2 separate regions of the Homo sapiens genome follow, and region 1 is linked to region 2. The links are contacts of gene promoters, found by promoter capture Hi-C in human tissues and cell types (Jung and others, 2019). All regions are on one chromosome and are shown on one strand. Each heading gives the region's core, a stretch centred on a gene start or on the middle of the fragment in contact. The rest is flanking DNA. Distances are from core to core; before and after follow the strand shown.

Evidence for each region. Contacts are between HindIII fragments. The study calls those that stand out against the background at their distance.
Region 1: a contact is called between the fragment with the promoter of DHDH here and a fragment that was not itself captured in region 2, in 2 of the 25 tissues and cell types used here (dorsolateral prefrontal cortex and pancreas).

The regions. Positions count from the first base shown.
Region 1 is chr19:48,927,829-48,934,948 of GRCh38, reverse strand. DHDH (dihydrodiol dehydrogenase) reads right to left here and starts at 1,250. Exons shown (of 7, transcript NM_014475.4): 1 at 1,138-1,250. The coding sequence starts at 1,227. RefSeq lists an enhancer at 1,176-1,677. The HindIII fragment of the contact is 30,682 bases long and covers 1-7,120 here.
Region 2 is chr19:48,722,718-48,729,863 of GRCh38, reverse strand. It overlaps RASIP1 (Ras interacting protein 1), which reads left to right. Exons shown (of 12, transcript NM_017805.3): 5 at 274-927; 6 at 2,434-2,471; 7 at 2,706-2,857; 8 at 2,976-3,079; 9 at 4,904-5,147; 10 at 5,355-5,527. It overlaps LOC124904737 (a long non-coding RNA gene), which reads right to left and starts at 1,720. Exons shown (of 2, transcript XR_007067286.1): 1 at 1,496-1,720. The HindIII fragment of the contact is 9,581 bases long and covers 1-6,085 here.

The DNA.
Region 1 (7,120 bases), core at 1-2,500, 210 kb before region 2:
GGGTGGAAGGGAGGCAAAGGAGGAGGCTCTGGCCAGGGGAAGGGGAGACGTGGTCCTGGGGGAAGAGATGACGGGGGCTGGACATTTGGGCCCTGGGAAAGAGAGATCTGGGGGAAAGCCGTTATTAAATCCCCCAATATTGAAATTATCTTCATAGTAGCTTACATCAAGGCCTTTCCAAACCTCAAGACACTCAGGTTTGTGTGGGGAAAAGAAAGAGAGATCAGATTGTTACTGTGTCTATGTAGAAAAGGAATCTGTATCATGAATAAGTTCAAGGAAAGGTGCTGTGACCGGATGTGCACGTAGGCTAGATTTATGTTTCACTTTACACAAACATCTCAGTGTAGCAAAGAGTAACAGAGCAGTATCACTGCCAGCATATCTCGCCTCCAGCCACAGGTAGGTTTTCTCCTATCTCAGAATAGAAGGAATGGGAATGGTCCGCTTTACACTGAGACAGTCCATTCCCAGGGAGAGCAGGAGACAGAAGCCTTCCTCTTATCTCAACTGCAGAGAGGCCTCCCTCTTTCACTACTCCTCCTCAGCACAGACCCTTTACTGGTGTCGGGCTAGGGGATGTAAGGTCTTCCTTTCCCACGAGGCCATATCTCAGGCTTTCTCAGTGGGGGGAAACCCTGGACAATACCCAGGCTTTCTTGGGCAGAGGTCCCTGCGGCTTTCCGCAGTGCAATGTGCCCCTGGTTAATAGAGAATGGAGAATGGCGATGACTTTTACCAAGCATACTGCCTGCAAACATATTGTTAACAAGGCACATCCTGCAAAGCCCTAAATCCATTAAACTTTGATTCAATACAGGACATGTTTCTGTGAGCACACGGTTGGGGCTAAAGTTACAGGTTAATAGCATCTCAAAGCAGAAACAATTTTTCTTAGTACAGTTCAAAATGGAGTTTCTTATGTCTTCATTTTCTACGTAGACACAGTAACAATCTGATCTTTCTTTTCCCCACAGGTTTGCAGAACAGAGATGGAGAAGGAGGTAGCAAGGAAACAGACGTTTCACTGCAATGACGACCCACTCACTAGTCCTGAACCCTAAACTCCCTCCTCCTTTAGACTCTGGAGTCCCGCCCCCCGCCTCCTCTTCCCCAGAATCCGGAGGGCGGGCAGACCTGGTGCTCAGAGCGAGGCAGCGTCTGCAGCACGGCTGTGAAGTCGCTGGAGATGAGGCCGACAGACACGATGCCCCAGCGCAGCGCCATGGTTGCGATGCGGAGCCCTCGGCACCTTCGGTCCCTCCAGGCGCGAATTAAGTACCTGACGCCCCGCCCACCCCGGGGGCGGGTCCCCATCCTCCGCCCGTATTGCGCCTACGCCGATTCTCGTTGGCTCCAGTCGGCAGAGCGGTCATTTAGTTCTAGCTTCCCCGCTGGGCGAATGCACCGTTTAGCTCCGCCTTACAGAGGGAACCACACCTTGACGTCGCTTCTACAGATCTCTTACCTATGACTTTAGGCTCGTCGGATACGCGGGGTAAGGACAGCGTGGGGAGGAGAGGTTTGCTTTCTTGCCAACACCAATCCTTGAGAGTTAGATTTAATGTCTTGCCCTCTGGACTTTGTGGCAAAACTTTGCCCTGACTTTTTTGCTCTCAAAGCCACGCATCATTAGGGGTTGTTCACAGAGAGAGAGAGGATTGTAACAGCAAACTTAATAATTATTACTAATATGTATAGAGCACCTGTAGACCAGCTCCTCAGCTCTGCGCTTTACCTTCTTCGTTCCTAATTTCTCCCCGCAGACCTGGGAAGTAGCTTCTATTGTCCCCAGTTCACAAAGGGGGAAACAGACTCCAAGATCCCTGGTCATTTTTTGGAGGTCTCACAGTCAGGAGGTAAAGACCTGTGAATTGGCTGCTTCCAGAAGCTATAGTTTTAGAAACCAGGCTGCTTTGCTTGTTAGGAGCCCCAGAGCCTGGCCGACTGGTTTCAAAACCCTCCTTGCCCCTTCTTGGCTGTATTGCTTTTGGACAAGAGGTCGCCCTCTCTGGTCCTCACTTTTCTATTCTGGAAAGCAGAGATCATGATAACATCTACCTACATAGGGTTGTGAGGAGGATTCATTGAGCTCTATGGTCTATTATGTAAAATATACTGTATTATTATAATTATTATTGATATAGGGTCTCGCTCTGTCGCCCAGGAAGGAGTGCAGTGGCACAATCATAGCTCACTGCAGCCTCAAATTCCTTAGCTCAAGGAATTAGCTCCTGCCTTAGCCACCCTAGTACCTGGGACTACAGTAGCTGGGACCCAAAGTAGCTACTGGCTACTACACCTGGCTAATTATTTTGTTTTATTTATTAATTATTTTAGAGATAGGGTCTCACTCTGTTACCTAGCTGGACTGCAGTGGCGTGATAATAGCTCACAGCAGCCTTGTACTCCTGGGCTCAAGCTATCTTCCCGCCTCAGCCTCCTGAGTAGCTGGGAGTATAGGCATGTGCCCCACTTACCGCTATTTGTTTGTTTGTTTGTTTGAGACGGAGTCTCACTCTATCCCCAGGCTGGAGTGCAGTGGTGTGATCTCAGCTCACTGCAACCTCCGCCTCCCTGGTTCAAGTGATTCTCCTGCCTCAGCCTCCTGAGTAGCTGGGACCACAGGCGCCCTCCACCATGCCCAGCTAATTTTTTTTATTTTTAGTGGAGACAGGGTTTCACCATGTTGGCCAGGATGGTCTCGATCTCCTGACCTTGCGATTTGCCTGCCTTGGCCTCCCAAAGTGCTGGGATTACAAGCATGAGCCACTGCACCCAGCCTGCTAATTTTTGTTGCTGTTGTTGTTTGTTTTTTGTTTTTGAGACGAAGTCTCGCTCTGTCATCCAGGCTGGGGTGATCATGCAGTGGCATAATCTTGGCTCACTGCAACCTCCACCTCCCAGTTTCAAGCAATTCTCCTACCTCAGCCTCCCGAGTAGCTGGGATGACAGGCGCCCACTACCACGCCCGACTAATTTTTGTATTTTTACTAGAGATGGGGTTTCACTGTGTTGGCCAGGCTGGCCTCGAATTCCTGACCTCAGGTGATCCGCCTGCCTTGGCCTCCCAAAGTGCTGAGATTACCTGCATGAGCCACCATGCCCAGCAATTTTTTGTACAGAAAAGGTCTCACTTTGTTGTCCAGGCTGGTCTCCAATTCCTGGGCTCAAGCAATCCTCCTGCCTCAGCCTCCCAAAGTGCTGGGATTATAGGTATGAGACACTGTGTCCAGTCGATTTTTAAACTTTTTATCAAGGCAGGGTCTTGCCAAGTTTCCCAGGCTGGTTGGGACATGATAATTCCTAACTGGCTGGCCAGCTTCACACAGGGCAGGATATTGTCACTTTCTCTTACTTGGTAGACAATAATTAAGACCTGAGTGTCACACATGGATTCACAGACTTCAAGTTTACACAAACTGCTGAATAGAAACACAAATGGGACCAGGCACGGTGGTTCACGCCTGTAATCCCAGTACTGTGGGAGGCCCAAATGGGAGGAATGCTTGAAGCCAGGACTTTGAGACCAGCCTGGGCAACAAAGCAAGACCCCATCTCTACCAAAAAAAAAAAGTGGGGGGAGGGGGCAGGGCATAGTGGCTCATGCCTGTAATCCTAGCACTTTGGGAGGCCGTGGTGGGCGGATCACTTAAGGTCAGGAGTTCGAAACCAGCCTGGCAAACATGGTGAAACCCCCATCTCTACTAAAAATACAAAATAATTAGCCAAGCATGGTGGCGGACGCCTGCAATCCCAGCTTCTTGGGAGGCTGAGGCAGGTAAATTGCTTGAACCTGGGAGGAGGAGGTTGCAGTGAGCCAAGATCGCACCACTGCTCTCCAGCCCGGGTGACAGAGAGAGACTCTGTCTCAAAAAAAAAAAAAAAAAAAAAAAAAGGTTTAGGGGGAGGGAAATCCACATAGGACACAATATCATTACTATGAAGAAAAAGAAAAAATCATTTAATAATAAATATCAAAAAATAATTTTGATACTCCCAGGTATTTGTCCTAGAAAGAAAAAATAACATGTTTGCACACAAACCAGTGCACAGGTGTTAGCAGCTGTACATAGCTCAAGCCCAAATGTCCTTTAAGCTGCCAGTGGATTCAACAAAATACTACTCAGCGGCCAGGCACAGTGGCTCACACCTGTAATCCCAGCACTTTGGGAGGCCAAGATGGGTGGATCACCAGGTCAGGAGATCAAGACCATCCTGGCTAACACGGTGAAACCCCATCTCTACTAAAAATACAAAAAATTAGCCAGGCGTGGTGGCGGGCACCTGTAGTCTGGAGGCTGAGGCAGGAGAGTGGCGTGAGCCTGGGAGGCAGAGGTTACAGTGAGCCGAGATCACACCACTGCACCCCAGCCTGGGCAACAGAGGAAGACCCGGTCTAAAAAAAAAAATATATATATATAATATATATATATATTTTTTTTTTGAGATGAAGGTTTGCTCTGTCACCCAGGCTGGAGTGCAGTGGTTCGATCTCAGCTCACTGCAAGCTCTGCCTCCCGGGTTCACGCCATTCTCCTGCCTCAGCCTCCCAAGTAACTGGGACTACAGGCGCCCACCACCACGCCTGGCTAATTTTTTGTATTTTTAGTAGAGACAGGGTTTCACTGTGTTAGCCAGGATGGTCTTGATCTCCTGACCTCGTGATCCGCCCTCCTCGGCCTCCCAAAGTGCTGGGATTACAGGCGTGAGCCACTGCGCCCGGCCTAAAATTATTACTTTCTTATTGCTGCACTCCAGCACCTCAGAGGAGGCAAAAAGGTAAACACTGAAAAGAAAATATGCCGGGCACGGTGGCACATGCCTGTAATCCCAGCACTTTGGGAGACTGTGGCGGGCAGATCTCTTGAGCCCAAGAGTTCGAGACCAACCTGCAAAAAATTAGCCAGGTGTGGTGGTGTGCATCTGTATTCCCAGCTACTAGGGAGGCTGAAGCGGGAGGATCGCTTGAGCTGGGAAGGTTGAGGCTGCAGTAAGCTATGATGGCACCTCTGTACTCCAGCCTGGGCAACAGAGTGAGACTCTGTCTCAAAAAAGAAAAAAGAGGGCGGGCGTAGTGGCTCACGCCTGTAATCCCAGCACTTTGGGAGGCCGAGGCGGGCGGATCACCTGAGGTCAAGAGTTTGAGACCAGCCTGGCCAACAGGGTGAAACCCCATCTCTACTAAAAATACAAAAATTAGCTGGGCGTGGTGGTGTGCACCTGTAATCCCAGCTACTTGGGAGGCTGAGGCACTGGAATCGCTTGAACCCAGGAGGCAGAGCTTGCAGTGAGCCGAGATCACGCCACTGCACTCTAGCCCGGGCAACAGAGTGAGACTCTGTTGCCCAGGAAAAAAAAGAAAAAAAAAAAAAAGAAAAAGAAAAAAGAAGAAAAAGAAAATGCTGTGGGGCGCTGCCATGTGGAAAGACATTTGGGAAAGGCTAAAAGAACCCACTGCACACTTAATGGTATATCACATGTCAGTACCCGGTCAGACTCGCCTCTGGTAACATGGAGGTAGACACTCTAGCAAGAATTAGAACACTGGGTCCCTCACAATCCTCAAGGGCTTGGAGCAACTCAGTATTGTGTATAGACTGCAGATTTCCCTTACCATATAATCTTCAAGTGGCAGGATTGATTAAAAAGAAAAATGGCCAGGCGCGGTGGCTTACGCTTGTAATCCCAGCACTTTGGGAGGCCGAGGTGGTCGGATCACGAGGACAGGAGATCAAGACCATCCTGGCTAACACAGTGAAACCCCATCTCTACTAAAAATACAAAAAATTAGCCGGGCATGGTGGCGGGCGCCTGTAGTCCCAGCTACTCAGGAGGCTGAGGCAGGAGGATGGCGTGAACCCGGGAGGCAGAGCTTGCAGTGAGCCGAGATCACGCCACTGCACTCCAGCCTGGGTGACACAGCAAGACTCTGCCTCAAAAAAAAAAAGAAAGAAAGAAAGAAAGAAAAATGGCATTTAAAAAAATTTTTTTGCAGGTTTTATTTATTTATTTATTTATTTGAGACAAAGTCTGGCTCTGTTGCTCCAGCCTGGGTGACAGCGCCACACTCCGTCTCAAAAAAAAAACAGAAAATAAAATTTTTTTTTGTAGAGATGGTGTCTCACCATGTTGCCTAGGCTGGCCTCCAACTCTTGGGCTGAAGTGATCCTCCCACCTCGGCCTCCCAAAGCACTAGGCATGAGCCACCAAGCCTGGCCCAACTATCCATTATGCATAGTTGTAAAGCAAGTCTGGCCAGACGCATTTATACTGGAGCTGATAAAAGGCCAATGGTAAACACTATTTAGGATTTCCCAGAATCTTGAGCCAAGGGGAGGGGTTGGACTGGCAAATTCCCCAGACTGGATAGGGTGTTTCTTGTCAGAGGGCAAGAATTTCTCGGGCAGCTGCAGTGGTCTCCCTTGATCCTCTTGGGGTTGGGGCCAAAACAATCCACTTACCCCTACACTAGAACATGGTCCCTTTTTTTTTTTTTTTTTTTTTGGACGGAGTCTTGCTCTGTCACCCAGGCTGGAGTGCAGTGACACAATTTCAGCTCACTGCAACTTCCGCCTCCTGGGTTCAAGCGATTCTCCTGCCTCATGAGTAGCTGGGATTACAGGCGCCCATCACCACACCCAGCTAATTTTGTATTTTTAGTAGAAATGCGGTTTTACCATGTTGGCCGGGCTGGTCTCGAACTCGTGACCTCAAGTGATCCACCTGCTGCGGCCTCCCAAATTGCTGGGTTATAAGCGTGAGCCATTGTTCACAGGCTGAGTGACGTAGTTTAATGTTATTTATTTATTTATTTTTTAAGACGGAGTTTTGCTTTTGTTGTCCAGGCTGGAGTGCAATGGCGTGATCTCGGCTCACCGCAACCTCCACCTCCTGGGTTCAAGCGATTCTCCTGCCTCAGCCTCCTGAGCAGCTGGGATTACAGGCATGCGCCACCAGGCCCGGGTAATTTTGTATTTTCAGTAGAGACGGGGTTTCTCAACGTAGGTCAGGCTGGTCTCAGACTCCTGACCTCGGGTGATTCGCCTGCCTCAGCATCCCAAAGTGCTGAGATTACAGGCGTGAGCCACCGCGCCCAGCCTCGTGACTTTATTTTAAA
Region 2 (7,146 bases), core at 46-2,545:
AGGCGCCTGTACTCCCAGCTACTCAACAGACTGAGGCAGGAGAATTGCTTGAACTCAGGAGGCAGAGGTTGCAGTGAGCCGAGATCGTGCCACTGGACTCCAGCCTGGAGGACAGAGCGAGACTCCATCTCAAAAAAAAAAAAAAAAAAAAAAAGAAGAAGAAGGAAAAAAAAAGTTGGTGGGAATAGAAAAGTTGTTGTAGAAAACAGAGAGAACAGATCTGAAGATATGGATTGAAGTGATGTCCTTAGTGCATCCTCGTTTCCCCTCCAGGACTTTGTGGTGTATGTGATGACGCGAGAGCAGCACGTGTTTGGGCGAGGTGGGAACTCGTCTGGCCGCGGGGGGTCCCCGGCTCCCTATGTGGACACCTTCCTCAACGCCCCGGACATCCTGCCGCGTCACTGCACAGTGCGCGCGGGCCCTGAGCACCCGGCCATGGTGCGCCCGTCCCGGGGCGCCCCAGTCACGCACAACGGGTGCCTCCTGCTGCGGGAGGCTGAGCTGCACCCGGGCGACCTCCTGGGGCTGGGCGAGCACTTCCTGTTCATGTACAAGGACCCCCGCACTGGGGGCTCGGGGCCTGCGAGGCCGCCGTGGCTGCCCGCGCGCCCCGGGGCCACGCCGCCAGGCCCTGGCTGGGCCTTCTCCTGTCGCCTGTGCGGCCGCGGCCTGCAGGAGCGCGGCGAGGCACTGGCCGCCTACCTGGACGGCCGTGAGCCAGTCCTGCGCTTCCGGCCGCGCGAGGAGGAGGCGCTGCTGGGCGAGATCGTGCGCGCCGCAGCCGCCGGCTCGGGAGACCTGCCGCCCCTCGGGCCCGCCACGCTGCTGGCGCTGTGCGTGCAGCATTCCGCCCGTGAGCTGGAGCTGGGCCACCTGCCACGACTGCTGGGCCGCCTGGCCCGGCTCATCAAGGAGGCCGTCTGGGTGAGCGCCCCCCAATCGCCGTCCAGCCCCACCAGCGCCCCAAGTCCCTTCTCCAGCCTCCCTTCCCTACCTTCAACCCTTTTCATAGCTGGGCTGGATACTACTGTTCCCATGACGCCTCGGGAAGGATTTGGGGTTTTGGGTTTTGTTTGTTTGTTTGTTTGCTTTTGTTTTTGAGACGGAGTCTCGCTCTGTTACCCAGGCTGGAGTGCAGTGGCGGTCTTGGTTCACTGCAACCTCTACCTCCGGGGTTCAAATGATTCTTCTGCCTCAGCCTCCCGAGTAGCTGGGATTGCAGGCGCCTGCCAGCACGCCCGGCTAATTTTTTGTATTTTTAGTAAGACGGGGTTTCACCATATTGGCCAGGCTTGTCTGGAACTCCTGACCTCGTGGTTCGCCCGCCTCGGCCTCCCAAAGTGCTGGGATTACAGGTGTGAGCCACCACACCCGGTGTTTTGGGGTTATTAAGCAAGGGGCCCCCCCATAGAATGCTGGGAGATGTAGATCCACTGCACTTAGAGGGAAGCCCAAACTCACCTTAGGAGAGCTCACCTAAGCACGAACTCACCTTAGGAAGAAACCATTATGGGAGATGGTGGGGGAGAGATCCCACTGGATGAGAAGTTGACAGAGATCAGTGTGAGAATTCACCGCAGCCCATTGGGCTTGGAGCTTGGATAGCAGTGAGCGAGTTCATTCTTGGAGGCGAGGAAGCACAAATCCACTGGACCTACAGATGGAAGTTCCAGAAAGAAACCATTCAGAGTGGGGGAAACGTTCCATCCTATTGAGCTAGGGCCTAACCAGAGAGGTTTAAGGAGTTTCTTGGGGGTAAAAATTGGAGAAGAGGACCTGAAGGAGCTAGATCACTCATAATCATAGGGTGTGTATGTTTTAAAAAGTAAGGAGAGACCATTCTAAAGCTTGTGGGATTAGAATTTGTCTCAAGAGCCAGGCGTGGTGGCTCATGCCTGTAATCCCGGCACTTTGGGAGGCCGAGGCGGGCAGATCACCTGAAGTCGGGAGATCGAGACCATCCTGGCTAACATGGTGAAACCCCGTCTCTACTAAAAATGCAAAAAATTAGCCGGGCATGGTAGCACATGCCTGTAATCCCAGCTACTTGGGAGGCTGAGGCAGGAGAATCACTTGAACCTGGGAGGCAGAGGTTGCAGTGAGCCAAAATTGAGCCATTGCACCCCAGCCTGGGCAACAACAGGGTAACTCCATCTCAAAAAAAAAAAAAAAAAAAAAGAATCCGTATGAAGAGTGAAGGCCGGTTGCAGTGGCTCATGCCTGTAATCCTAGTTCTTTGGGAGGCCAAGGTGGGAGGATCATTTGAGCTCAGGAGTTGGAGACCACCGGTGGCAACATAGTAAGACCCCATCTCTAAGAAAAGTAGGACCAGTCTCTATGAGAGTTGTGCTTCTATAAAAACCAGGGTATTAACTCTTAAGCCCCTCAGTGGATCCCCCTCACCTTGATTCTGATCTTACTGTTCCACAGGAAAAGATTAAGGAAATTGGAGACCGTCAGCCAGAAAAGTAAGAGAAATTCTGAGCAGAGTGGTCTGGAGGGATGCAGGGGTTGGGTTTTGCGTCTAGTTCTGTGTTCACCCCATGCATGCCCCAGTGCAAGTTTCTGCTTCTCCTTGCGCTCAACTTTTCCAGCTGCGCAATGGGAGTTGGTCTTGCTCTCCCACTTAGACTTAGATCTTGGGGTTTGTAAACTATGATGAGGGTTGGGCAGGGATCACAAATTCCTTCCTCTTTTTCAAGCCACCCTGAGGGGGTCCCCGAGGTGCCCCTGACTCCTGAAGCTGTGTCTGTGGAGCTGCGGCCACTCATGCTGTGGATGGCCAACACCACGGAGCTGCTTAGCTTTGTGCAGGAGAAGGTGCTGGAAATGGAGAAGGAGGCTGACCAAGAGGGTGAGCTCTGACTCAGGCTCAGGCTTGTCCAAGTCTCCCATCATGCCCTGCACCTGGGGACCTGGGCTCCTGGCTGCCGACTTCTGGTTCTCCCTCTTAACCCCAAGCCTGTCCTCAGACCCACAGCTCTGCAATGACTTGGAATTATGTGATGAGGCCATGGCCCTCCTGGATGAGGTCATCATGTGTACCTTCCAGCAGTCTGTCTACTACCTCACCAAGGTTGGCCCTTGCCTCTTACTTCCTGTTTGACATAGCATCACTTCCTGTTTCACGTAATATCACTTCCTGTTTGTGGTAACATCACTTCTTGTTTGAACTACACTGTGTGGCTCTGATGTCACTATTTGACTCAAGATTTTCTGCTTTTCTCTGACATGACATCCCATCTCACCCAAGGACTTTGCTGTTCTGACACCACTTGTTAGAGCTTACATCACTTCCTGCCTTTCTGGCTTCTTTTCCTTTGTAATCATCACCTGGGCAAACGCGGTGGCTCACATCTGTAATCCCGGCACTTTGGGAGGTCAAGGCGGGTGGATCACTTGAGGTCAGGAGTTTGAGAGCAGCCTGGCCAACATGGTGAAACCCCATCTCTACTAAAAATACAAAATTAGCCAGGCATGGTGGCCTGCGCCTATAATCCCAGCTATTGGAGAGGCTGAGGCACAAGAATCACTTGAACCTGGGAGGCGGATGTTGCAGTGAACCAAGATTACTTCATGCCACTGCATTCCAACCCGGGAGATGGAGCGAGACTCTGTCTCAAAAGAGTAATATAACGCCGGATGCAGTGGCTCACGCCTGTAATCCCAGCACTTTGGGAGGCCAAGGTGGGCAGACCGCGAGGTCAGGAGTTTGAGACCAGACTGACCAACATGGTAAAACCCCGTCTCTACTAAAAATACAAAAATTAGCTGGGTATGGTAGCGCGTGCCTGCAATCCCAGCTACTCAGGAGGCTGAGGGAGGAGAATCGCTTGAACCCGGGAGGCGGAGGTTGCAGTGAGCTGAAATCGCACCATTGCACTCCAGGGCGACAGAGACAGACTCCATCTCAAAAAAGTAAAATAAAATTAAACGAAATAAAAAAAAAAGTAATCATCACCACTTTTGACAGGCTGACCTCACTACTTGGTAACATCACCATTACCACCTTCTGAATCTCCCACTTTCTAAGTCTACTCTTCAGTCACTGTTAAGTTTCATATATAATAGATAGATAAATGATTGATAGATAGCTAGAGATCAAATAGTGCCAGGAACTGTGATTTAAACTGAAGATCCTCTTTCATCAGGCCCCACTTCCTTCGCTTGCTGACCTCACTTCCTACAGCTCTGAATTCACTTCCCTTTCAGAACGACAGATCTTTTTCTCTGAGTGCCCTTCCTGGAAGGGCCTGCTTTCTGCCCCAGTTTCCCCCCCATTACCCTTGACCTTAACACCACTTCTTGGCATTCTCAGGGTTTCTGGCTTATGGTGGGCTTGATGCCCTATGTGCAAGAATGAGAGAGGATCTTTTGGGACAGCTAACTATCAGTCTCTAAGTTCCTCTAGCAGCCTGGATTGTGAAGCCCTTTCCTCCTTCACTTCCTGTACATTCCTGCCAAGTGTGCGTTTATTTCTTCTGTTTCTGACCTCATTTCCTGTCCTTGGCCTGATCTCATTTTCCACTGGCAAACTGCCATCCCACTCCCACTTCCTGACTCTCCATTCTTTTTCTTTCCTTTGGGAATTCAGGATGAATAATTCTTTGACTGAAAGGGAACTCTTTGTCCAGTATCCTTTGTCCTCCTTGAGCTGTCTCTGCTGAGAACTACAAGTCCCACAATGCACAAGAGGTGATCTTAAAATACTCGAGAAACTTGTATACCCTTCTATCAAGTAGGGATTTGCTCACGGAGACCCTTTGGGTGTTGACTGTAGAATGGACTACAACTCCCAGAAGACTTTGGTGGAGCTCCCCACTATCTTCATGCTCTATTACCCTGAAGCTTCCTGGGAGTTGTAGTCCAATCACTTGTTTCCACTTCTCTATTTTCTCAGACTCTCTATTCAACGCTGCCTGCTCTCCTGGATAGTAACCCTTTCACAGCTGGTGCAGAGCTGCCGGGGCCTGGCGCGGAGCTGGGGGCCATGCCTCCAGGATTGAGACCTACCCTGGGCGTGTTCCAGGCAGCCTTGGAGCTGACCAGCCAGTGCGAGCTGCACCCTGACCTCGTGTCTCAGACTTTTGGCTACTTGTTCTTCTTCTCCAACGCATCCCTTCTCAACTCGCTGATGGAACGAGGTGAAGGTTGGCTGGGAGCTGTCAGGGAGGCAAAGACAGGAGCCACTGAGACTCAGGTCATATTAGACACACCACGGGCTCAAGCCTCACCTTTGGGTACCCTGGAGAACAAGCTCCAGATCCCAGGCTGAAGGATAGGAAGAGTCTGGGAGGCAGGAGCACAGAGTCCAGCCAACCAACTGCCTCTCATACCTTTAACACCCACAGGTCAAGGCCGGCCTTTCTATCAATGGTCCCGAGCTGTTCAAATCCGAACCAACCTGGACCTCGTCTTGGACTGGCTACAGGGAGCTGGGCTGGGCGACATTGCCACTGAGTTCTTCCGGAAACTCTCCATGGCTGTGAACCTGCTCTGTGTGCCCCGCACTTCCCTGCTCAAGGTGACTCCTGGTCAGCTATACCTGACCCCTGACCTCTGACTCCTCAACCCCCCTCAGCCACCTTCTATATTCAGCTCACCGTCAGAGCTCCCCTTGAACCCCATGCCATCCCCAGCCCCAGCTCAGACACTGTGGGTAACACATTGGCAGGTAGAAGGAAGCCAGCACCAACAATGACTAAACTCGGCTGTGTCTGAATCCTGGTGGAACTTATTAAAAATAGTTTCCAGGCCAGGAGCAGTGGCTCGCGCCTATAATCCCAACACTTTGGGAGGCCTAAGTAGGTGGATCACTTGAGGCCAGGAGTTTGAGACCAGCCTGGCCAACATGGCGAAACGCTGTCTCTACTAAAAATACAAAAATTAGCCAGGCTTGATGGCGCACGCCTGTAATCCCAGTTACTCTGGAGGCTGAGGGAGGAGAATCGCTGGAACCTGGGAGGCAGAAGCTGCAGTGAGCCAAGATTGCACCATTGCACTCCAGCCGGGGCGACAGAGCGAGACCCTGTCTCCAGAAAAAAAAAAAAAAAAAAAGTTTCCAGGGTCCCTCACTCAGACATGCTGAGTCAGAAAGTGTGGTATGAGACAAAGGAACATGATGATTAAAACATTCATTGAACATGAACTACCTGCCAGGCACCCTGTTTAGCACTTCTAGTTTAATGCTGACAAAGCCCCATCGAAGTAGGTGACTGACTGTTTTTTGGATGAGGAAACAGAATCAGGTAGGACAGGTCGCTTGATTTCACTTATTTTTCCTTTTTTTTTTTTTTTTTTTGAGACGGAGTCTCACTCTGTCACCCAGGCTGGAGTGCAATGGCATGATCTCGGCTCACTCCAACCTCCGCCTCCCGAGTTCAAGCGATTCTCCTGCCACAGCCTCCTGAGTAGCCGGGATAACAGGCACGCGCCACCACACCCGGCTAATTTTTGTAATTTTGGTAGAGACAGGGTTTCACCTTGTTGGGCAGACTGGTCTTGAACTCCTGACCTCAGGGGATGCGCCTGCCTCGGCCTCCCAAAGTGCTGGGATTACAGGCGTGAGCCACCATGGCCGGCCAATTTCAATTATTTATTTTCCTTTCTTCTTAAATATCTTACAAAAACTGTTCCCCATAGACATTTATTTATTTATATCAAATGTTTATAATGGGCTGGGCGTAGTGGCTAATGCCTGTAATGCCAGCATTTTGGGAGGCCGAGGTGGAAGGACCGCTTGAGCCCAGGAGTTTGACACCAGTTGGCAACATAGGGGAGACACCATCTCTACCAAAAATTTTAAAAATTAGCCAGGTGTGGAGGCACACGTCTGTGGTCCCAGCCACTCCAGAAGCAGAGGTGGAAGGACTGCTTGAGCCCAGGAGGTTGAGGCTGCAGTGAGCCACAGTCATGCCACTGTACTCCAGCATGGGTGACAAAGCAAGACCCTGTCTCAAAACAATAAGAAAGAAAGTTTACCATGCATTTAATAAGCCCCAGGCAGTGTTCCAAGTACTTTACAATTTTGCCATATTGCATCCTCATACCAACTCTATTAGATAGTTCCTGTTCTCCAAATTTATGGATGAGGAGACTAGGGGACGGTGACCTGCCGGAAGGTAATAAGTGACCCACCTGGGA